Regions from separate parts of the Homo sapiens genome. Here regions 1, 3, 4 and 5 are each linked to region 2. The links are contacts of gene promoters, found by promoter capture Hi-C in blood cells and fetal thymus (Javierre and others, 2016). All regions are on one chromosome and are shown on one strand. The core of a region is centred on a gene start or on the middle of the fragment in contact, and the rest is flanking DNA. Distances in the headings are between cores, read along the strand shown.

Region 1 (4,125 bases), core at 553-3,052, 190 kb after region 2:
ACCGAGACCCAACACCCAAAGGAGTCCCACAGGCTCAGGGTTGCTGCAGGCAGAGAACAGATGCCGCGATGGGTCCGACGGTGCTTGTTCCTTGGACTTCCTAGTCACAGGTGAGGAAACTGACCAAATACTTTTCCTAATCAACTGGAGAAAAGAGCTGAACAGGAAACGTGTGTCATGTGCCACCAATGAGCTCTAGTTCACGCAAGGAGAAAGAGAGGTCGTCTCCAAACACTGATGGAGTGTGGTAAGACCAGAAAATTCTTCTGTCATCGCTGACAAGCACACTTAAGTTTGTCACAACAAGTTACATGTAAAAAAGTTACTTTGGCACCGAGTGCGGTGGCTCACACCTTCAATCCAGGCACTTTGGGAGGCCGAGACAAATGGATCACCTGAGGCTGGGAGTTTCAGACTAGCCTGGCCAGGAGGCGAAACCCCAGCTCCGTTTCTACTAAAAAAAAAAAAAAAATTAGCTGGGCATGGTGGTGCGTGCCTGTAATCCCAGCTACTTGGGAGGCTGAAGCATGAGAATCGCTTGAACCCAGCAGGCACAAGTTGCAGACATTGGAGATCTCACCACTGCACTCCAGCCTGGGCAAAAGAGCGAGACTCTGTCCCAAAAAAACAACAAAAAAAGTTACTTTGGTATAGAACATGTGTTCTTGTAAAGTCACAACTGATACTTATAATTACCTAAAAAATATAGACTTCTCAACCTAGCTTTATTTATAAATCACAAAAGGTTTGCATCTGAAGGAATCTGCCTGGCTCAGGGCGCAGGGCGCACATACACTTCCATTAACACTAAACTCCTCTTACAGGCCTGTCATTCTTGTTCAGAAAAGTGCTGCTGCTTCGCTCTTGAGCAAGAATGACACACAGACACGTGAGGAGTTCCATATTATTTTAAAAAAAGAAAAGTAAGGCCGGGTGCGGTGGCTCACGCCTGTAGTTCCAGCAATTTGGGAGGCCGAGGTGGGCAGATCATGAGGTCAGGAGATCAAGACCAGCCTGGCTAACATGGTGAAACCCCATCTCTACTAAAAATACAAAAAATTAGGCGGGCGAGGCGGCGGGCGCTTTTATAGTCCCAGCTACTCGGGAGGCTGAGGCAGGAGAATGACTTGAATCCGGGAGGCAGAGGTTGCAGTGAGCTGAGATCGCGCCACTGCACTCCAGCCTGGGCGACAAGAGCGAGACCCTGTCTCAAAAAAAAAAAAAAATTACTGAATGTTGAATGAGTAACAGTGTCACAAGAGAGGAAAAACTCAGGCAGAGGGGGCTGCTGGAGTGTAACCAGTCTCTATGCGGATAATGGGGCAACACCCAGCAAGTGAAAACTACCTGTGCCTTTCTCACAGACACTGGCTTCTAGAAACCCGCCCTACGGACATACACGTGCCTCTGCAACATGGCTGCCTGCAGGATGCCCACTGCCGGCCTTCCACAGCCACAAAAGAACAGACAAGTAGAATAATCCATCCATGGGGCAGGACAGGCCATGCGGCTCCACGCGCACCTCCGAAGATGAGTAGAGGAAGCAAAAGAGCCCAAGGGCACCCTGCTGCGCCACCACACACGTCACCCACACACACAGAGAAGATGTGCTCATCTAGTGTACGTGAAACACCTGAGTCCCCTGAGGCTGATGACAGCTGCGTCAGTCCTTACATCCCTAGATATTCCGAGCTACACAACCCGGCTCTCCAAACATCTACCACACACGGCCAGAAATGTGGCACAATAGCAGCGATTCATGACTACAAACCCGTGTTCACGGCACCCGGACTGTGAAATAAACGTGAAAATGCTAAAATTAAAATTCCTGACATTCAGTCATAACCACAGATCCTGACGGAAACATGAGGTTAAAGCAATAAAGTCAACTGTTGGTTGTGACTGAGAGGGTGACGGAGGCCCAGACACAAGGCATACCACAGGGAGCACACGTGAGAAACAACAAGCCTAAAATGACTTCCTTACCAATTCAGACAACATACAATAAAATATGTTCCGTCAAAGCACAAACAAGGGCCGGACGCGGTGGCTCACTTGAGGTCAGGAGTTCGACAACAGCCTGGCCAACATGGTGAAACCCTATCTCTACTAAAAATACAAAAATTAGTCATGGTGGCACACGCCTGTAATCCCAGCTATTCGGGAGGCTGAGGCAGGAGAATTGCGTGAACCCCGGAAGCGGAGGTTGCAGTGAGCCGAGATCGCGCCATTGCACTCCAGCCTGGGAAACAGAGCGATACTCTGTTTCAAAAAAAAAAAAAAAAATCGCACAAAGAAGCCCAGGATCAGCGTGATCACAGCAGCCAAAGGAGACAGCCTGCCTCCCAACACCAACAAGAACTCACCACCTGCTGGACGTTCCTTTAAGTTAGCCTATTTAAAAACAAAATGCAGTTTGTTTTTCCCCCAACAAAAGGTTCACGAATGGCAAAAAGGCTATTTAGCAACAGAAGCAGTATTTCTCCCAAACTGATGCAACCGACAGGGCAGCCAGCTTGCGACTCAACAGCGTTTCTTACATAAAAGCAAGGACAGCTTGGAAAACACTCCTGACACCAACAGGCTTCGCCTGAAGGGCCAACGCCTTTGTAAACTAATCTTCCAGACAAGTATTTGTCTGGTATGCCAAACAACTGTCTTTACAAGTACCAAAAATCTATCAGAGGGCTTGTAATCCCAGCACTTTGGGAGACCAAGCAGGTGGATCACTTCAGCTCAGGAGTTTGAGACCAGCCTGGCCAACATGACAAAACCCCGTCTCTACTTTAAAAAAAAAATAAAAAAATAAAAAAAGCCAGGCGTGGTGGTGCGCGCCTGTAATCCCAGTTACTCCGGAGGCTGAGGCTGGAGAATCGCTTGAACCCGGGAGGTGGAGGTCGCAGTGGGCCCCGTGATGGTGCCACTGCACTCCCGCCTGGGTGACAAAGTGAGACTCTGTCTCAAAAAAACTCCAAAAAACTATCATAAAGAAGCCATCAGGCGGGGCATGGTGGCTCACGCCTGTAATCCCAACACTTTGGGAGGCGGAGGAGGACGGATCACTTGAGGTCGGGAGTTTGAGACTAGCCTGACCAACATGGAGAAACCCCGTCTCTACTAAAAATACAAAACTAGCCAGGCGTGGTGGCTCATGCCTGTAATCCCAGCTACTTGGGAGGCCAGGAGTTCAATACCAGCCTGGGCAACACAGTAAGACCCTGTCTGTAAAAATAAATAAATAAATAAGGCCAGGCACGGTGGCTCACGCCTGTAATCCCAGCACTTTGGGAAGCCAAGGCAGGCAGATCACCTGAGGTCAGGAGGTTGAGACCAGCCTGGCCAACATGGTGAAACCCCGTCTCTACTAAAAATACAAAAAAATTAGCTGGACATGGTGGTGCATGTCTGTAGTCCCAGCTACGCAGGAGGCTGAGGCAGGAGAATCGCTTGAACTCGGGAGGCAGAGGCTGCAGTGAGCCGAGATCTTGCCACTGCACTCCAGCCTGGGCGACAGAATGAGACTCCGTCTCAAAAAATAAAATAAAAGAAAAAAACAAAAAAACAAAAACAAAAAGCCACAAAACAAACAAACAAAAAACCTAACTGGTTCCAAGGGGACACTTTAATCCTTGGAGCACCAAGCGCAGGAGGCTCTGTGGAAACGTACGGCGGAGTCTTCTGGCGCTGCCCTGAAACATGAGGACTCCCAGGACTCTGGTATTTGAAACAATTTAGTCTCTAACACCAAAGATGATCACCCCAGAGAACGCTAACATGTCGACACTTACTATCACTTGGATTTATCAGGAAAATAGAGTCCACGCTGATTTTCAATAGGGTGAAATTGTTACTGTGTCTGTTTTTAGAGACAGAGACTTGGTTTGTCGTCCAGCCAGGAGTTCAGTGGCGCAGTCACAGCTCACAGTCATAGCTCACCACAGCCTCAACCTCTTGGGCTCAAGTGATCTTGCTGCCCCGTCTCCCAAGCAGCCAGAATGACAGGCATGTGCAACCACATGTGGCTAAGTTTTAAAATGTTTTGTAATGATAGCGGGTCTCACTGTGTTGCCCAGGGCTCAAACTCCTGGGCTCAAGCAATCCTCCTCCCTCAGCCTCCCAAAGTGC
Region 2 (4,133 bases), core at 466-2,965:
TCTGTTCACAGTGATCCCACAGCACCTAGCCTGAACTGCACACAGCACACATTTGCTCACAGCGAGGCTGGGGCTCCTACAGGCCCAGCACCCTCTGGACGGCGGCCAAGAGCCAGCTAGAGAGAGGGACGGCCAATCTGCCACCCTGCTGCCCGGGTCTTCTGCAACACCTGGGACTGGCAGCAGCCTCAATCCTGAGAGACCTCACACCCGGCAAATGGAGCTCCAGACCCGCAGGAAAGGCTGAGTCCTCTGAGAATTTATTACTACGGATCACAGCAGCAACGGGCGGGAAGGGCGGCGCCAGACTCATTTGCCCCGCAGGTAGATCTTGGGGGTCTGCCAGCCTTCGGGGGCTTCCTTTAGCCCCGCCTTCAGCCAGATGCGCCTCAGGTCTTTCTCGAACTTGATCTGCAAGACGCAGAGAGAGGGACCGCCAAGTAATTCGTGGCAAAGAAACGTGTTCTCAGCACTTTGCCCTCCCAGGGCCAAGCAGGGGGCCACTCACCTGCTTGCGTCTCAGGCGTCCCTCCTGGACCTTCCTCCGCAGGAACCGCGTCTTCTTCACCAGCTTCCGGTACTTGTGGTGGTTCATCTTCCGCCGGCGGATCTTCAGCACGTTTTTGCACTGAATTTGAGGCGCATCCGCGACGCCTTCATCCCCCTGCTCGGCCCCTTCCCCTATCTGGCTGGGCGGACACTGGTAGGATTGCGGTGGAGCCACAGTCCCTGCGGTCCCGGTATCCAGTCTGGGCAGGAAGCAGCGGGCCGTGAGCCAGCTCTCCAGGGGGCTGACGGACATCTTCCTGGGGACCAGCATCTCCTCCAGCTCCAGCTGGGCCCCCTTGCGAGGGAGAGAGGCCGCCCTACCTGGGCCGGCCGGCGATGTGCTGTAAAGGGGCCCGCAGACCCGGCTGCCCAGCACTCCAGAGACGGGCCAAGGCGGGCGGCCGCCTGCAGAAAACCAGACGCCACGGTCACCGCTCGCGAGACCACACAGGCCCGTCGGGTTGAGGAGCAGCAGGTTCGTCCCAGCGAGGATCCCCCGCACCTCATTCCTGGCCTGAACCCCTGAGGTTCCCTCTGTGAGCATCGGAAGCTTAGAGGGGAAAGAGTGTGTGTGTGGCCACCGGCCCTGCCCCAGCGGAGCTGCTGAGACCCGCACTCCTAACCAGGTGTGCATCCTCCCATCCGCCCCCGCGCGGCTTCCTACCTGCCCAAGGAACGGCCCTCAACAGCTGGGAAGTCAGGCGCCCCAGGAGCATGGTCTGTGGGCGGCGGCCACAGGTCCCAGGGGAGCTGGAACACAAGTGCCCGTTCAGGTCAGGCGGCAGCGCCTTCAGTAGTCGCGGGCGGGCCGGGACTGGGGCGTCTGGTCCCGCCGCGACCCTCGCTTCCCTTCTCCCTCCGCCACCCCAACCCACAAGGAGGACTTTGCTTCCAACACAGCTCGCGCCCCGAGGCTCCCAAGCCCCCGACGCGGGCGGTGTCGCGCTCGGACGCACCGAAAGGTCCCAGAACGGGGAGGCCGGCCCCCTCCCCGGGTTCACCCCCGCGCGAATCGCGTTGCCTGGCGCCCGGACCCTCTCGGCTGGACCCCGGGCCCGCCTGCCGCAGCGCCCGGCGCCCTCAGGCCTCCCGCTGACCCTTCCCAAGCCCGACCTCGACGCGGCTCAAATTGACCGTTCTGCGGCCGCCCTCGGGCACTTCCGGTCCGTCCCCAAGTCGGCCCCGATCGGCAGCGGCCACCCGGCGGTTCCTACGCACAGCGCCCGCTGGCGTCCTCGCGGCCCCCGATTCTGCATTGGCTCAGGCCCCGCCGGGCCCGAAAGGCGACGGTTTCCGGTTAGTGGAATCACGGTCCCAGTCCTCGCGCGGTTCCTCAGCTCCGCCTGGTCCCTTACGGAGGCAAAAAACTACATTTCCCACAATCCCAGGGGGTGCGGGCCCTGGATATACCCGCAGGTCCAGAATCGTTTCCGGACCACCCAGGGGCCGGATTCCCAACGGGCCGACGGAAGTGCGGGCTCAAGACTACGGAAGTGACGTATCTGGCAACGGAAGTGGAGTTACGTGGAAGGCGGAAGCGTCTAGAGCTATTTCCCCCGTTTTTGCTAGAGACCAAGGACCCGGAATAAGCACTGAGCCTGCGGTACCGGGCCTCCCCGACTCCTCATTCCTGGGGTTAAAAAAAAAAAAATAAGACGCAGGCTGGGCGCGGTGGCTCAGGCCTGTAATCCCAGCACTTTGGGAGGCCGAGGCTGGTGGATCACCTGAGGTCAGGAGTTCGAGACCAGCATGGCCAACATGGTGAAACCCCGTCTCTACTAAAACTACAAAAATTAGCCTAGCGTGGTGGCAGGCGCCTGTAATCCCAGCTACTCGGGAGGCTGAGGCAAGAGAATCGCTTGCGCCCAGGAGGCAGAGGTTGCGGTGAGCCGAGATCGCACCACTGCACTCCAGTCTGGGTGACATAGATCCTGTCTCAAAAAAATAAATAAATAAATAAAATAAAAATCAGACTCACACTTTTTGTCTGAGAACTAAAAGCAGCCTCTCTGGTGGATTGGGTTTGGCTGAGCCCCTAATGATGCTCCCCAGAGTAGGCGCTGCCAACGTGTAGCTTCACCTTTCTACTCCAGACAGGCCCCTTTGACCTCCGTGAGGTTGGCTAATATAGAGACCCCAGCATGGACTTGCAGGGGCGCCTGGTGGGAGAGGGGTGTGGAGCAGAGCCTGCTGGGCCTGCTCGGAGACTTGCCTTGCAGGAGGGTCTTCCAGGGACGCTTAGCAGGAAGTGGAAAGGCCAGGTCATCTGCCGGGCCCAGCCTGGCTAAGCAGTGAGTGACAGGTAGGATAGGCCAGTGTGAGGACATAAAGTTCAGGCTCCAGGCCCACCTCTACAACTGAGGTCCCCAGATGACTCTACGTTACCCCTCAGAGGGGCTACTTGGGACTCCAAGCAGGAAGGTTTACGAACGTTATTTGCGGGCCCGCCCTTCACCCCTGCTGCACAGCTTCCCCTAGTGGATTTGGCCGTAAATGAGCAGACTGGTGCCTCCAGAGCAGCCCTCACCTTGGTGCCCCTGTGTTTGTCTTCACCCGGCTGGGGTCCAGGGAGATGCAAAGAATCCATCAGAGAACAGGTGAGCATGTTGAGAAGAACCAGAGAACCAGAAATAACCTGGGCTGGCAACCTTGGCCTTCAGGCTTCTGAGGCATTGACGTGCAGATATAAGTACCTCCCCTGAGTTAGGGACTGGTAGAAGAAACGGGATGTGGACATTTCAGTCTGAGAAAGTCTTGAGGAGCAGGATGAACCAGGGTGTCCTTCCCCCTCTCAGGAAGTAATTTCAGGGAGGTGAAGTGAGGAAGACCACTCTGTTGGGGTCCCTGTACCCAATAGGCTCCAGGCCAAAAGGGAAAGGTCCCAGCTAGAGCAGGACCCAGCTGCTACAAGGCTGGGGAATTATCATTCAGCTACAGGAGCTGCATGGAGCCGGCCCGGGAGGCTTGCAGACAGTGGCCACCCCGATGAATGCCCGGGCCAGACCTGACTGGCTGCCGCCCACAGGAGTGGCAGGAACACTTGTTGGAAGCGCCAGATGCTTGTGTGAGCAGAGCTGCCAAGCTAGATGAGCTGGAACTAGACTAGGAAGATCAATCCTTTACAAACATCTGAGGAAGAAAAAATGCAGTGGAAGAATCGGGGAGGGTGCATGGGTTATGATTCCTAATTTTTAAACAAAGGAACTCTAGTCTCTCAAGGGAAGTACACAGTTGCTGCACATACCTGTTTTCCCCAAAATACCCATTTGTCTTCAGGAAAGTTTTTCTTTAGAAACTTCAGAATTTTGGTCGGGCAGAGTGGTTCACACCTGCCTGTAATCCCAGCACTCTGAGAGGTCGAGGCGGGCATACTGTCTGAAGTCAGGAGTTCGAGACCAGCCTGGCCAACATGGCGAAACCCCATCTCTACCAAAAATACCAAAAAAAAAAAAAAAATTAGTTGGGTGTGGTGGTGCACACCTGTAGTCCCAGCTACTCCGGAAGCTGAGGCAGGAGAATCTTTTGAACCTGTGAGGTGGAGGTTGCAGTGAGCCGAGATCGTGCCAATGCACTCCAGCCTGAGT
Region 3 (3,935 bases), core at 91-2,590, 240 kb after region 2:
GGAAGCCACGTCAGAGAGGCTGTGTTTGTGTCTGAGCATGCATGCGAGTGGAGGGGAGTGGTGAGTAATCCCGCGTCTCCTCTCTGAGTTCGGAACCCATGGAGGAAGAAAGCAGAGGTGCCAGACAGGCCTCTGATAGGCACCTGCAGGATTGGGGCAGAGCGGCCGCAGCGCAGGAGCGCCGGCAAGCCTGGCCCTTCCCGGGAGGCCCCCTTTGTCCGGTTCCACCCTGGCCTGTTGCCTCACATGCAACAAGTGTCTGAATGTGGCGCTCTCCTGGCCGAGGGCAGCCCTGGGCGGTGAGTGGGATGACACCCCAGCCTGCAGGGTGCCTGTAGGTCTCCACCCAGATGGGCAGGATTGGAGGTGGCCGCAGCGCTCGTGGGCTTTCCCTCAGCAGGTGTCTCCATGCTGGCCTCCCCGCCTCAGGGCTTCATCCCACTCCGTGGGCCTGATCTCCCTGGGGCACCTGGGATGTCCATCTGCGTTAGCTGGAGCTACTCCATGGCCTGTGGCGTGCCACACACAGCGGCATTTCGGTGTCATTAGGCACAGCTGGAGGTGCAAGGAGGAGGGCAGCCTCATGTCCAGTTCCATGTAACTTGCTTCTTCTGAATAAAGGCAATTTGCTAACTTTCTCGCTAAATAGGATTTGGTTTCTATGGCTTTTAAAGCTTCTCCGATAAAATACTTGCAATAAGGGAACTCTCTCCTCCTACACTCTCCTGACTGATGGTTCGGAAGTCCTCCTGCCCTCTGAGAGCTTGCAGTTTCTTGTGAAAAAGAGAAACTAAGCAGCAATAGAACAGACCCGGTGTCTGCTTGCGTGGTTAAGACGGTAAATGCTAAATGTGTGACACTGCCTTTAGAAACCATTTTCTCCAGCCTGGCTTGCTGGCTGCCCGTCTGGTTTGCTGTGTTGTGTCTCCAGTGGCTTTAGCTTCCAACAGGAAAGCCTGGTAGCCGAGCGAATCTGTGACCCAGGAAGTAGCAATTAAATGCCTGGGACGCTGCCTCGAGGCTGGTGTGTGCTCTGAGGTAAGTTCCGATTTGCCAAAGCACATCTGTCGATCTGTCGCCCGAGTCTTCACACCCTGACTGCCTCCATCATTTTAAACATCGGGAGCAGTTGCCTGCAGCGGGGTTCAGATGCCAGCCAGGGGCACAGCCTGTGAACTGTGGGTAGATGGCAAAGTCTAGCATTTCTGGCAAAGGAAAAAACATTTGGTAACTCTCTGAGTAAATTTCTGACTGAGATGAAGATACCCATTGTGGGGCAGCATCCTGAAGCGGAAGCCTGGGCTGTATGTTTCCAAGAGGAGGAGCAGGAGTGGCCACAGCCATGTACGCCACGATGTACACCAGGGGCTGCGTGGCCACAGCTCTGGTCTGCTGGTCTGCTCCCTGGAGCCCCTCCACCAGTGCTGGGCTGTGGCTGTGGCTGTCTCTGGTTTGTCTTTCTGGGAAACCTTGGCCAGGTTGGTGTGAGGGCAGGGCTAGCCTTGGACATCTGCACTTCCCATAGCAGCCTCTGGCCCAGAGCTCACCCGCTGTGGGCAGGTGATCAGGGTGATCAGGTCCCACGGGTCCCCTCCTCTGCACCTGGAGCCTTGTGGGTGTAGAACAGAAAAATAGGAGGGGGCAACCCAGAGGCCTCCTGCTCTCCAGGAAGGAATGGATGCTGGACAGGTCCAGGGTGGAGGCAGAGGGAGTGAGGGGCCCTTGGGGGAACATCTGTCCTAGAGGGCTTGATTTCCAGGCTGCCCACCCCACTCCTACCCCTAATCTGGTGTTCCTCACCTGCCTCCAGGAAGTCCTCACCTGAGGTCTGCAGCGGGTGTGCCAAGCGCCAGCCCCACATCACCTGCTCCCAGGCCTGCCCAGGGGATGGGTCCTGTGGCCAGTACCCTCGGGGTCAGCTTGACCCAGACCCAGCCCAGAACCTGTCCCATGGCCCCAGGAGGACAGGATGGTCAGGGAAGCCCAAGGGATGAGCCCTTTTGTCCACAAGCTTCCCTCTGACATGGGCAGGCTGCTTGTGCGACCCCACAGCCCCCACCTCTCATGAACAATGGGAATGGGGCAGGCCCCTCGATGCTGGGCTGGATCCTCCCGCCCCTAAGCAGGTGCACTCTGTCCCCTTTGAGAAGAGACCAAGGGATACAAGTGCTGGGTCCTGGCGGGGTGCCCCTCCTCCCTGCCTGTGGGGGTCTCATTACTGCCTCCTGCCCCCACCACAAACACCCCCTAGAGAGGCCTTCGGAGGCAGGTACTGAGCCCTGGGGCCAGGGTGCCAGGAGCCCAGTGGCAGGTCTTGGGTGACTGCTGGCCCTGGGGCAATGGTGAGAAAGCCAGGCAGGCAGCTGCAGGAAGGAGCTGAGGAGAAAGGCGGCAGAGCCTCAAAAGCTGCTGGCGGCCGGGCACAGTGGCTCACACCTGGAATCCCAGCACTTTGGGAGGCCGAGGCGGGCGGATCACGAGGTCAGGAGATCGAGACCATCCTGGCTAACACGGTGAAACCCCCGTCTCTACTAAAAAATAGAAAAAATGAGCCAGGTGTGGTGGCAGACGCCTGTAGTCCCAGCTACTCGGGAGGCTGAGGTAGGAGAATGGCGTGAACTTGGGAGGCGGAGCTTGCAGTGAGCTGAGATTGCGCCACTGCGCTCCAGCCTGGGCGACAGAGCGAGATTACGTCTCAAAAAAACCAAAACTGCTGGCCCCTCCAGAGGGTCCAGGATACTGAGCTCCTGAGCCTGGGATCCACGCGCATGTGGTCTGTCTGCACACTGGCACCGCAGAAGGGTTGGCAGGCGGGCAGGCATGGCTGGAGACCCCGCTCAGATGAGGCGGCCACTCCAGGGCAGTGCCATGCTGGACAGAAGGGACTGCCTTGGAAGTGGGACAGACCCCAGACCCTTGGGGTGGGGGCCCTGCAGGGGAGGCCTTGAGGAGGCGCCGGGTCTACAGGCCCCTGTGTGCTCACATCCCAGCCCCCGGGGAGAGGTGGGAGTGGGTGGGCGCACCCAGCTCCCCTGTCCAGGCTCGTCCCCCTTGTTGGGGCAGCCCTCAGCAAGTGGGGGGCTGGTTCCAGGCACAAGAAGTGAGGCCAGGGAGGAAGCCCTGCCTGTGTTCAGCCCAGTTGTGCCCCAACTCAGGTGGGCTTCCATGAGGGACAGCCTCTGGGAGGGTGGGGGTTTGTGGGCCAGGGCTGGAGAGCTGCCTGGCTGTGCTAAAAATACCGGGCATGCTGCAGACAGGTGCCAGTCTGGGGCACAGGCTACCCTGTCTCAGGCTGATGGCCTTGGCACTCCACCCCACTGCCCCTGTGACGCGGGGGCCGCCAAGGCTTGGTCTTGATTCCCAGAGGCCCTGCTGGTGACCTCCCCGACATCTCTGCCCTCTGCCCATCCCCCCAAGGGCAAGATTTGCCAAAGCACAGGACACATTGGCTCACACATGGGGCACCCTGCCCCTGTCTTTTTGGAAAGGTCCAATGGCATATGGCCAGCGGGTCGGGCAGGTGTGGCCGCTGGCCTGGGCTAAGCTGGCTGTGGCTGAGAGTCTGGGCGCAGAGACAGAAGGCGCCCCCTGCTGCAGAAGGATCACAGTGTGGGCTCATGGCATTGGCTTTTTTGCGGTCCCAAGTCCTTCATCTCCATTGCCGGGCCCATCTCGGGGGTCGGCAGATGCGTGTCCCCTACTAGCAAAGACCTCCAGTCGGTTCTGCGGCTGCCTGTGATGAGCCCTGCTCTGGCTAAGTGGAGGTGTTTGGCAGGGAGGAGTCCCCGGCTTAGTGTGATTCCAGCTGTGGCCGATTCTGGTGGGATCCTGGCAAGGAGGAGGTTGCGTGTGGATCTGGTGGAGGTGGACGGCCTGGCAGGGGGTGGGGTCTGCAACCCTAAGGAGCAGTGCCCCTCTCACTTGTCCCCCCGCCA
Region 4 (4,137 bases), core at 248-2,747, 170 kb before region 2:
CCAGACAGCTCCTGGAACCCGCCCCCACCTCCCCGCAGGGTTCTCACAGCCCTCGTGCTGGATGGAGAAGCCCAGGCTGAGAAAGCAGGGACAGGACACCCCCAGAGCTTCATGGCCTGTGGTGCCTGAGCATGGCCTGGCCTGCCCGGCCTCACAGGACTCCGGACCCCACACACCACATGTCCTCGCCGGACACCTGTGCCCACGAGCTCTGCCTCGGGCCCTAGTGGAACCCCTGGCCTGTGTGGACTCCCAGAGGCACCTCCAGGACTTACCCTGGGACTGTACCCCCTGGCCTGGGGGACAAGGGTGGTGCCGGCAGGTCGTGCAGCAAGGGTCTCCGCAGTGGAATTCAGGCTGGACACACATGCAGTCCCACTCGGAACAGCACTCCTCGCCTGGGCAGGAGACAGGCCAGCCCCCCAGCAGCTGGGCTGAGGCCCCCTCCTCCCCAGGCCTCCCCTCGGCCCTCCAGGGGAGTGAGGTTGTCCGTTCTCCACCCACAGTTGGCTCCAGGGAGCAGAGGGCTCCTGGCTGGGAGTCTGGACCCTGGGTTTATCCAGCTGTCTCTTTCTCCTGGGGCCATGTGGCCTGGCTACTCCCCCTTTGCGCCCCACAGCTGCCCCTGCCCAGGTGCTAACTCCATATGCAACCAGGAGCTGCCCCTGCAGGACCCAGGGGTGGCCCCCAACAGTGCACAGTCCCCTGGAGGCCCGTCGACACCTCAGAGGCCGCCTGCCTGGTGTCTGGGCGCTGCTGTCCCCACCACCAGCCACACTGGGCCTCCGGACAGAGCCTCCCTTCCCAACCCACAGGCCCTGGAGGAAGAAGCTCTGGGGTGACTTCCCTGCCAGCTTCCTCTCCAGACCAGCCGTGTCAGCTGAACCCTCATCCCCAGGTGCAGGTCAGAGGCAGGCAGCAGGCCAGACGGTGGTGCAGGGGGGCCCTCAACTGGGCAGGAGGGGGCTGGGCGATGGCCAAGGGCTCACGACCCGCCCAGCAGGACCTGGAACAGCCGTCCTCCACCTCCAGACCCCAGACCCCTCTTGAGGGCGCTCCCACCTGGCTCACCCCTGCTCCCGGCCGGGGCCACTGGCTGGAGCTGGCACACCTCCGCCTCCCTCTGGGATCCTGCCTCCCTCCGGAAGGCTCCCGCTGCTGGCGGCTCTGTGCCCACCCTCCTTAGACCTCAGCAACGCCGGTCTGAGCACGGGAAGGGGGGCGCCCACCCATCCCGGCTTCCGCGGGACGCCTTGGCCGGTCCGCGTTAAGTAAACGCGGTTTACTTACCCGGGTAATCGCGGCAGCAGCGCGTCGTGTGAACCCGGCAGCAGCGCGCGTCCGTTCCCGTCCCAAGCAGGAGGCGCCCAGGGCCGCACCCGGGACCCCCGGTGGGGCGCTGACCCAGGCTGAGCGCGCACAGCAGCGCCAGGCCGCACAGGGCCCGAAACGCGCCCATCGCCCCGTGCTGTGCCATGCTCGGGTTTCAAGAGCCCACAGCCAGTTGGACACGCCCCGTCCCCGTCCTCACCCGCCCTGCCCGGAGGTGGCTGGGACCGTTCATGACCTGAGAATCCCGACCCAGGTGAAGTGCGTGTGAGGAGGGGGTGTAGACACTGCGGACACAGCCCGGTCCCCCGCAGGTCGCCGGCAGGGGCGGGGAAACCAGGCTGGCGGGGATCAGAAAGGTTTTCTATGCAAAGTCTGCGGCCACATTGGTGTCCCCAGTGCAGGGGGCGGCGTTTATAGCACCTTGTCCCATGGGGGCCCCTTGGAGGGCGGGGGTCAGCCAATCACTCCTCCATCCCACTGCCTCCGGGTGGTATCTGCGAGTCCCCGAGAGGTCTCCACAAATTCTGGCCACCCCCAGAGAGCCTCAACCATGGAGCCCCGTGCTGGGGAACCCCACAGAATGGGGACAGGGACCCCTCGGCTCAGCACACCCCACCTGGCTGGCTTCAGGTGTGAAACTCACCATGGGCTGCAGGCCTGTGGGCTCCCCTCCCCCTTGCTTGCAGCTCTCCAGGACCCCCCTCAGGCCAACCTGGGAAGTTCCCCGGGGCTTGGGAGGGGCACCAGGAGGAGCTGGTGGGGAGACGAGAGGGTGCTGGCGCCTCCTCGGGACAGTGTCAGCCGCCCCCGCGGGCACCCAGGGCCCGGTCTCTCAGAGCCACCTTCATCCGTCACACCAGACAGATCCAGGTCCCGGAGGGAGTTGAGGAGGAGCCCCTCGCAGAGCTCTTGGGAGACTGTCCTATGTCTTTCTGAGCCTCAGTTTCCCCTGTGGGCACCGAGGGGTTCTGGGACCCTGCCTCCACCAGGAAGCCTCCCTGGATTGCCCAGCCCTGCTTCTGCGCCGTCCAGCACAGGTGGAGACCCCCATGAATGCTGGGGGTGGGGGCTCTCGGGAACGTGAGCGTGGATGTGGTTCAACACCCTTTTGAGACCTGCAGCCACCGCCTCACCCCGTAAGGCGGTTCCTCCTTTTCCAAGGTAAATGACAGGAATTAGCTGTTTGTGACACCCCGGAGTTCTCAAATCCAAGATGTAGGAGCCTGCCTTGGAGAGGCAGCCCTCAGACACTGCAGAGAAGGAAGGGGTCTCTGCAGCTCCAGGCCGCCCCGACGCTCGGAAGGAAAGGGGTGGGGCCAGCTGGGCCTGGGGGCCTTTGAGAGGCCTGGAGATCTTCAGCCCCGAGGCTGGGAGGGGGTCTGGGCCCCTGGATAGAAAGAGGCGCCATCAGTGGCTCACGCCCGTAATCCCAGCATTTTGGGAGGCCGAGGTGGGCCTCGGATCACCTGAGGTCAGGGGTTCGAGACCAGCCTGACCCACATGGAGAAAGCCCGTCTCTACTAAAAATACAAAAAAAATTAGCCAGGCGTGGTGGCGCACGCCTGTAATCCCAGCTACTCGGGAGGCTGAGGCAGGAGAATTGCTTGAACCTGGGAGGCAGAGGTTGCGGCGAACCAAGATGGCACCATTGCACTCCAGCCTGGGTGACAGAGCGAGACTCCATCACAAAAAATAAAGAATGCTCATCAGACCACACGGTGTGAGTCATCCATCTAGAGGCAGGGACAGAGTTAGAGGAGCGAGCAGTTTATGGGGCCAAGTGGGAGGCGGCCAGCGGGCAGAGGAGCCCCTCCCCCCCGCCCCGTGGCGCAGCTGACACTTTGAACAGCCGGAGAGCAGCTTGCCACACAGGGTGGTCCCCGGAGGGGCTGCAGGGGTGTGACGTCCACCCTCCCATCCCTCTCGCCGCAGAAGGCCCCTCCCCGGCTCCCCGTGACTCCTATCCTTGGGCTGCGAGGCTGGAGGTGACTTGTTCATCTTATTGAGCAGCTCACCGGTGACACAAATGACGGGGCATTCACACAGCAGAGCAGCCCACGGGCCGGGCGAGGGACAGCCCTTGCGTACGTCCAGAAGGGCAGCTGTGAGGCCCCACGGGGAGGGTGCAGATGGGCACTGAGCCAGAGTTCAGGCAGGGCCTTCGGCACAGATGGCACAGGAGTTGCCAGCAGAGATGGCGTCAGGCGAGGGGGCGGGGAGGGTGAGCATGGAGACCAAGAGGAGGTGGCCCCGTGTCCATCTGGGGGTGCGGCAAGGGGTCCTGCTGGGGAATAAGTCCCACGGGGCCTGGGGGGTGCTGTGCCCAGAGGGGAGGAGACAGGAAGCGATGGGTATGGGCGCCAGGTTTGGGGAGGAGGCCCCTTTCCCATAGCCGTCGACCTGCGGGCCCCACAGGATCTGGCCGCTCCAGTCCCGGCCACCTGACCCCTTCCCCCACCCACCCGCCATCCTGCCTGGAGGTCTGGCCTCGCCTGCCCCACGGGGCGGGGGGCGGGGGGCTCTCAGAGGCGCGGCCCCAACCCTGTGCAGGGCCTGCAGGCTGAACCGTGTGCAGGAACCCGGGGAACTCGGTGAAGGTGCTGGATGGGGGACAGGACGGCCTCTGACTTCCCTATGCTGCGGGGGGGGAGGCTTGTGGTTAGCAGAGAGTGGGTGGAAGACAGAGGTTTGAGGAGAGAGAGACCCAGGGGAGAAAACCAGCTGCAGAGGCAGGAGGGGTCCAGGGCAGCCCGAGGCCAGAGATGGGCGTCTTCCTTACAGCCACCTGTGGTCCCGGCACCTTGG
Region 5 (4,456 bases), core at 1,957-4,456, 140 kb before region 2:
GGGCGGGCTGCAGGGTGTGGGCCAGGTGCTGGGAGGGGCAGGGGCAGGGGCAGAGGAGGAAGTGAGGTCCTGGCTCCAATCCAATCCCCGGGCACCACGGAGGGCTCTGTGTCCCCAGGACGGCCGCAGGATGGGGACAAGCAGCTCACAGTCTGCAGAGAGACACAGACACATCATTAGCAAGACTCAGCAAAGACTTCCCCAAGCACGTCTATCCTGCAACATGAAACATATCCTCGATTCACAGGATCCAGACATGTGGCATCGCCTTCTCCAGACCACACGTGGCACTGCCTTCTCCAGACCACACGTGGCATTGTTTTCTCCGGGCCACACGTGGCATTTGTTTTCTCTGGACCACACGTGGCATTTGTTTTCTCCGGACCACACGTGGTGTTTTTTTCTTTATTTTTAGAAACAGGGTCTTGCTCTGTCACCCAGGCTGGAGTACAGCGGTGACCACAGCTCACCGTGACCACGAACTCCTGGGCTCAGGTGATGCTCTGGGCTCAGGTGATGCTCTCGCCTCAGCCACCGGAGCAGCTGCGACCACAGGCGTGCACCCCCACGCCCAGTAATTTATTTTTATTTTACTCTTTGTAGAGACGGGTCTCGCTGTATTGCTCAGGCTGGTCTCAAACTCCTGGCTTCAAGCGATCCTCTTGCCTCAGTCTCCCAACGTGCTGGGATTACAGGCGTGAGCCACTGTGCCCGGTCTTTTTTTTACAGACACTGAGTTTTCAGCCCTGTCTCTCCGTCTTTCCATCTCTCTCTCGAGCTGTCAGCACCTCCAGGGGCTAACCTGTCCCCATCGCCCAACACCTGCAGCACAGCTTTCCTGTGGGGCCCGGCTCTGTCCCTCCTGGCATCATGCCACTGACCCATGGGGTTAGGGTCACTCTCCAGACCCTGACTTGAACATTCTTGAGATCTATGACCTTAGCTAAGTCATGTGGCCTCCCCGGCCTCAGCTTCTCACTAAGAAACAGGAGGCTCCCCCTCTCCCCCCGACTGACCAGGCTTTGCGAAGACAGCCAACCCTAAGTGCAGAGGGCGTCAGGGCCTGGTCCCAGCAAACAAACACACAACCCCCACACACAGATGTGCACACACACATCCACACTCACGCATGCACGTATTACACACATGTGCCCTTGCCCACACTCGCGAGCGAACGCCAAGGCCGAGGAGCCCAGAAGTCTGTCCTGCCGTCCGAGGCGTGGCCAGTCCTGGTGGGAAGCAGGGGCTCACAGGGCCTCATGCCTCATGTATCCCAAAGGGAACTCGGGGTCCTTCTCACCCACGAGCCTACTCCTTTCACAGTCTGCCCCTCCGGCAAACACCTGCGGGTCCTTTCGGGTGCCGCTGAGGCCCCGCCATGTCACAGCTGTTCCCTCAACACACATGGACTGAGACTCCTGTTCTGTGGCCGTCTTATTCAGCTTCACTGTTCTGGCACCTGCCACTCTGCCTGCACACAGTAGGCGCTCAACGAATGCTACCCTGGGTAATATTAAACGAAAAAATGCTGCCTCCAGGTATCGAGAAACACCAGTGGGGCCGCCATGAAAGTGGTCCTGAAGTCAGTGCAGTCTGCCACAAACCAAGAGGGGTACAAGCCTGAGTTCCCCCAAGGAAGGAAACCCTGGGTGAGGGGCTCATGTCTGATTTTTTTTTTTTTTCTGAGACAGAGTCTCACTCTGTCGCCCAGGCTGGAGTGCAGTGGTGCAGTCTCGGCTCACTGCAACCTCCACCTCCCAGGTTCAAGTGATTCTCCTGCCTCGGCCTCCCAGTTAGCTGGGATTACAGGCACCCACCTCCACTCTCCACTAATCTGTATTTTTAGTAGAGATGGGGTTTTGCCATGTTGGCCAGGCTGGTCTCTAACTCCTGACCTGAAGTGATCCTCCTGCCTCGGCCTCCCAAAGTGCTGGGACTATAGGCGTGAGCCATGCACCCGGCCTGATTTTCTGAACATGGCTGAGGGCTTTTCCCTTCCCTAGTGGTGGCATAATTCTATTCCTGTCGTCCCAGATCGCCTGACCAGGGGAGAGTCCTGGATAAGAACCAAGACACCTCCTCCTGGTGCTGACTCCACTAACTACAGTCGTAAAACACACGCTGTGTGCAAAGAGACTGTACTTTGTTCCTAGAGAAAATAAAGCTAGTTCTTGATTCTACATATCTTGATGAGTTACACGGTTTACTTGAGGCAGGAGGATCGTGAGACCAGCCTGGGCAACACAGTGAGACTGCGTCTCTTTAAAAAACAAAAACAAAAAGATAAGACCCTGTCTCGAAAAAGGGGGAATAAAAAGTAACCCAAAAGTAACTATAAATATCAGGAGTCCATCAAGTGGCGCTTCCTCTCCTGGCTTCAGAGTATCTATTCATCACGGTGTGCCAGGTTCGCAGCACAGCGGAGCGGGCCGGTCCCACCGGAATGGGGTTTCGACTTCGCCATCCCCTAGCAGCTCAGTTCCCAGCAAGGAATCAACACACCCTTGCAAAACGGACGTGGGAAACAGCTTAGGCAGAGACGCTATTTCTTTGCCATCCCTGGGCTTCAGCTCTGGTGGAACGAGGCTATTTCTGGCAGTTAACAACACACACGGTTAGATTCTAAAAGCTCAACAGGGTTCATAACACCGCCTCTGAGCCAGACATCAAGGGCTCCACACAGCCGACTTCACATCTCCAAATCCTACTAACTGGGGATGAGGGTCCACGCGGTTCAGAAGCGGAAGCGCAGGCGCAGGGAAGCGGGGCAGCTTGTCCAAGGTCGCCTCGCCGATAAACGCGAGTCCAACCAGACCCCTTGGGCCTCCGTTTCCCGGTGGCATTCGTAGGTTTTGGCCAGTAGGAGACCAGACGTGCCGGCGGCCGGGGAGGCCAGCGTCGTCGGCCTGTCCCTGCCCCCGGGAACCCCGGGAGCCCCGGTGGCGGCGGAGTCTCGCCAGGGCTCAAGGCCGAGCGGACGGACGATGCCCCAGCCCAAGGCGGGAGGCGGCGGCGGCCTCCAGACCCGCCCTCGCCGTCCGGCCGGCGTACACTTGGCCCCGCGGCCTGCAGCGGCCGTCCCGGGCCCCTCACTCACCGGTCTGCCTCCCCGCGCTCGGGATCCGAGGACCGGAGCGAAGCGTCAGTGACGCCGCCAACGGGCCCGGATCAGGCCACTGCCATCTTTCTTGCGGGCGGGGGCGGTGCGAACGGGCGCGACCTCACGGAGGGGACGCCGGCGCCACCATCTCTCCTCCGGGCGGAAGCGGTCGCGGGGCCGCTCCGAGGTTGACCAATGACAAGGGTGCCCGAGGCCACGTGACGGCCGCCGATTGGCCGCCGGCCTCCGAGCGCCCCGGGGCTCGGCGTCTGCGGAAGGCCCCGGCGCGCTCCCAGGAGCGCCGTGCGCACGCGCACCGCCCCGAGCCGGCGGCGCCTGCGCACTCGCGAGTCCGGCCTGGGCCGCCGGCCCGGCGCGGGCGCCATGAAGCTGCTGCGGCGGGCGTGGCGGCGGCGGGCGGCGCTAGGCCTGGGCACGCTGGCGCTGTGCGGGGCGGCGCTGCTCTACCTGGCGCGCTGCGCGGCCGAGCCCGGGGACCCCAGGGCGATGTCGGGCCGCAGCCCGCCTCCCCCCGCGCCCGCGCGCGCCGCCGCCTTCCTGGCAGTGCTGGTGGCCAGCGCGCCCCGCGCCGCCGAGCGCCGCAGCGTGATCCGCAGCACGTGGCTTGCGCGGCGCGGGGCCCCGGGCGACGTGTGGGCGCGCTTTGCCGTGGGCACGGCCGGCCTGGGCGCCGAGGAGCGGCGCGCCCTGGAGCGGGAGCAGGCGCGGCACGGGGACCTGCTGCTGCTGCCCGCGCTGCGCGACGCCTACGAAAACCTCACGGCCAAGGTGCTGGCCATGCTGGCCTGGCTGGACGAGCACGTGGCCTTCGAGTTCGTGCTCAAGGCGGACGACGACTCCTTCGCGCGGCTGGACGCGCTGCTGGCCGAGCTGCGCGCCCGCGAGCCCGCGCGCCGCCGCCGCCTCTACTGGGGCTTCTTCTCGGGCCGCGGCCGCGTCAAGCCGGGGGGGCGCTGGCGCGAGGCCGCCTGGCAACTCTGCGACTACTACCTGCCCTACGCGCTGGGCGGCGGCTACGTGCTCTCGGCCGACCTGGTGCACTACCTGCGCCTCAGCCGCGACTACCTGCGCGCCTGGCACAGCGAGGACGTGTCTCTGGGCGCCTGGCTGGCGCCGGTGGACGTCCAGCGGGAGCACGACCCGCGCTTCGACACCGAATACCGGTCCCGCGGCTGCAGCAACCAGTACCTGGTGACGCACAAGCAGAGCCTGGAGGACATGCTGGAGAAGCACGCGACGCTGGCGCGCGAGGGCCGCCTGTGCAAGCGCGAGGTGCAGCTGCGCCTGTCCTACGTGTACGACTGGTCCGCGCCGCCCTCGCAGTGCTGCCAGAGA

Evidence for each region. Contacts are between HindIII fragments. The CHiCAGO score rates a contact against its expected background, and 5 or more counts as called.
Region 1: a fragment that was not itself captured here is called in contact with the fragment with the promoter of AURKAIP1 in region 2 in 1 of 17 cell types (M1 macrophages); the score reaches 5.3 in M1 macrophages.
Region 3: a fragment that was not itself captured here is called in contact with the fragment with the promoter of AURKAIP1 in region 2 in 4 of 17 cell types (fetal thymus, erythroblasts, endothelial precursors and 1 more); the score reaches 9.5 in fetal thymus.
Region 4: a contact is called between the fragment with the promoter of TNFRSF18 here and the fragment with the promoter of AURKAIP1 in region 2, in 3 of 17 cell types (activated CD4 T cells, non-activated CD4 T cells and naive CD8 T cells). The highest score is 5.7, in activated CD4 T cells.
Region 5: the fragment with the promoter of SDF4 here is called in contact with the fragment with the promoter of AURKAIP1 in region 2 in 1 of 17 cell types (total B cells); the score reaches 5.0 in total B cells.

Annotation. Positions count from the first base shown.
Region 1 is chr1:1,565,644-1,569,768 of GRCh38, forward strand. All of the region lies in intron 1 of SSU72 (SSU72 homolog, RNA polymerase II CTD phosphatase), which reads right to left. Among named protein-coding and RNA genes, the nearest start is that of SSU72, 7.2 kb to the right of the region's middle. The HindIII fragment of the contact is 5,161 bases long and covers 1-4,125 here.
Region 2 is chr1:1,373,492-1,377,624 of GRCh38, forward strand. AURKAIP1 (aurora kinase A interacting protein 1) reads right to left here and starts at 1,716. Exons shown (of 4, transcript NM_017900.3): 1 at 1,663-1,716; 2 at 1,214-1,299; 3 at 509-954; 4 at 245-411. The coding sequence starts at 1,265. The coding sequence ends at 310. RefSeq lists silencers at 1,457-1,506, 1,527-1,706 and an enhancer at 1,502-2,407. The HindIII fragment of the contact is 3,347 bases long and covers 1,098-4,133 here.
Region 3 is chr1:1,616,678-1,620,612 of GRCh38, forward strand. The region is part of intron 2 of MIB2 (MIB E3 ubiquitin protein ligase 2); the gene reads left to right. Among named protein-coding and RNA genes, the nearest start is that of MIB2, 3.1 kb to the left of the region's middle. The HindIII fragment of the contact is 1,337 bases long and covers 673-2,009 here.
Region 4 is chr1:1,205,095-1,209,231 of GRCh38, forward strand. TNFRSF18 (TNF receptor superfamily member 18) reads right to left here and starts at 1,498. Exons shown (of 5, transcript NM_004195.3): 1 at 1,291-1,498; 2 at 276-398. The coding sequence starts at 1,477. RefSeq lists silencers at 81-281, 3,154-3,243, 3,824-3,933 and an enhancer at 3,078-3,957. The HindIII fragment of the contact is 24,444 bases long and covers 1-4,137 here.
Region 5 is chr1:1,228,795-1,233,250 of GRCh38, forward strand. SDF4 (stromal cell derived factor 4) reads right to left here and starts at 3,207. Exons shown (of 7, transcript NM_016176.6): 1 at 3,098-3,207; 2 at 1-152. It overlaps B3GALT6 (beta-1,3-galactosyltransferase 6), which reads left to right and starts at 3,443. Exons shown (of 1, transcript NM_080605.4): 1 at 3,443-4,456. The coding sequence starts at 3,485. RefSeq lists a silencer at 2,685-3,544 and enhancers at 3,161-3,842, 3,843-4,456. The HindIII fragment of the contact is 46,076 bases long and covers 1-4,456 here.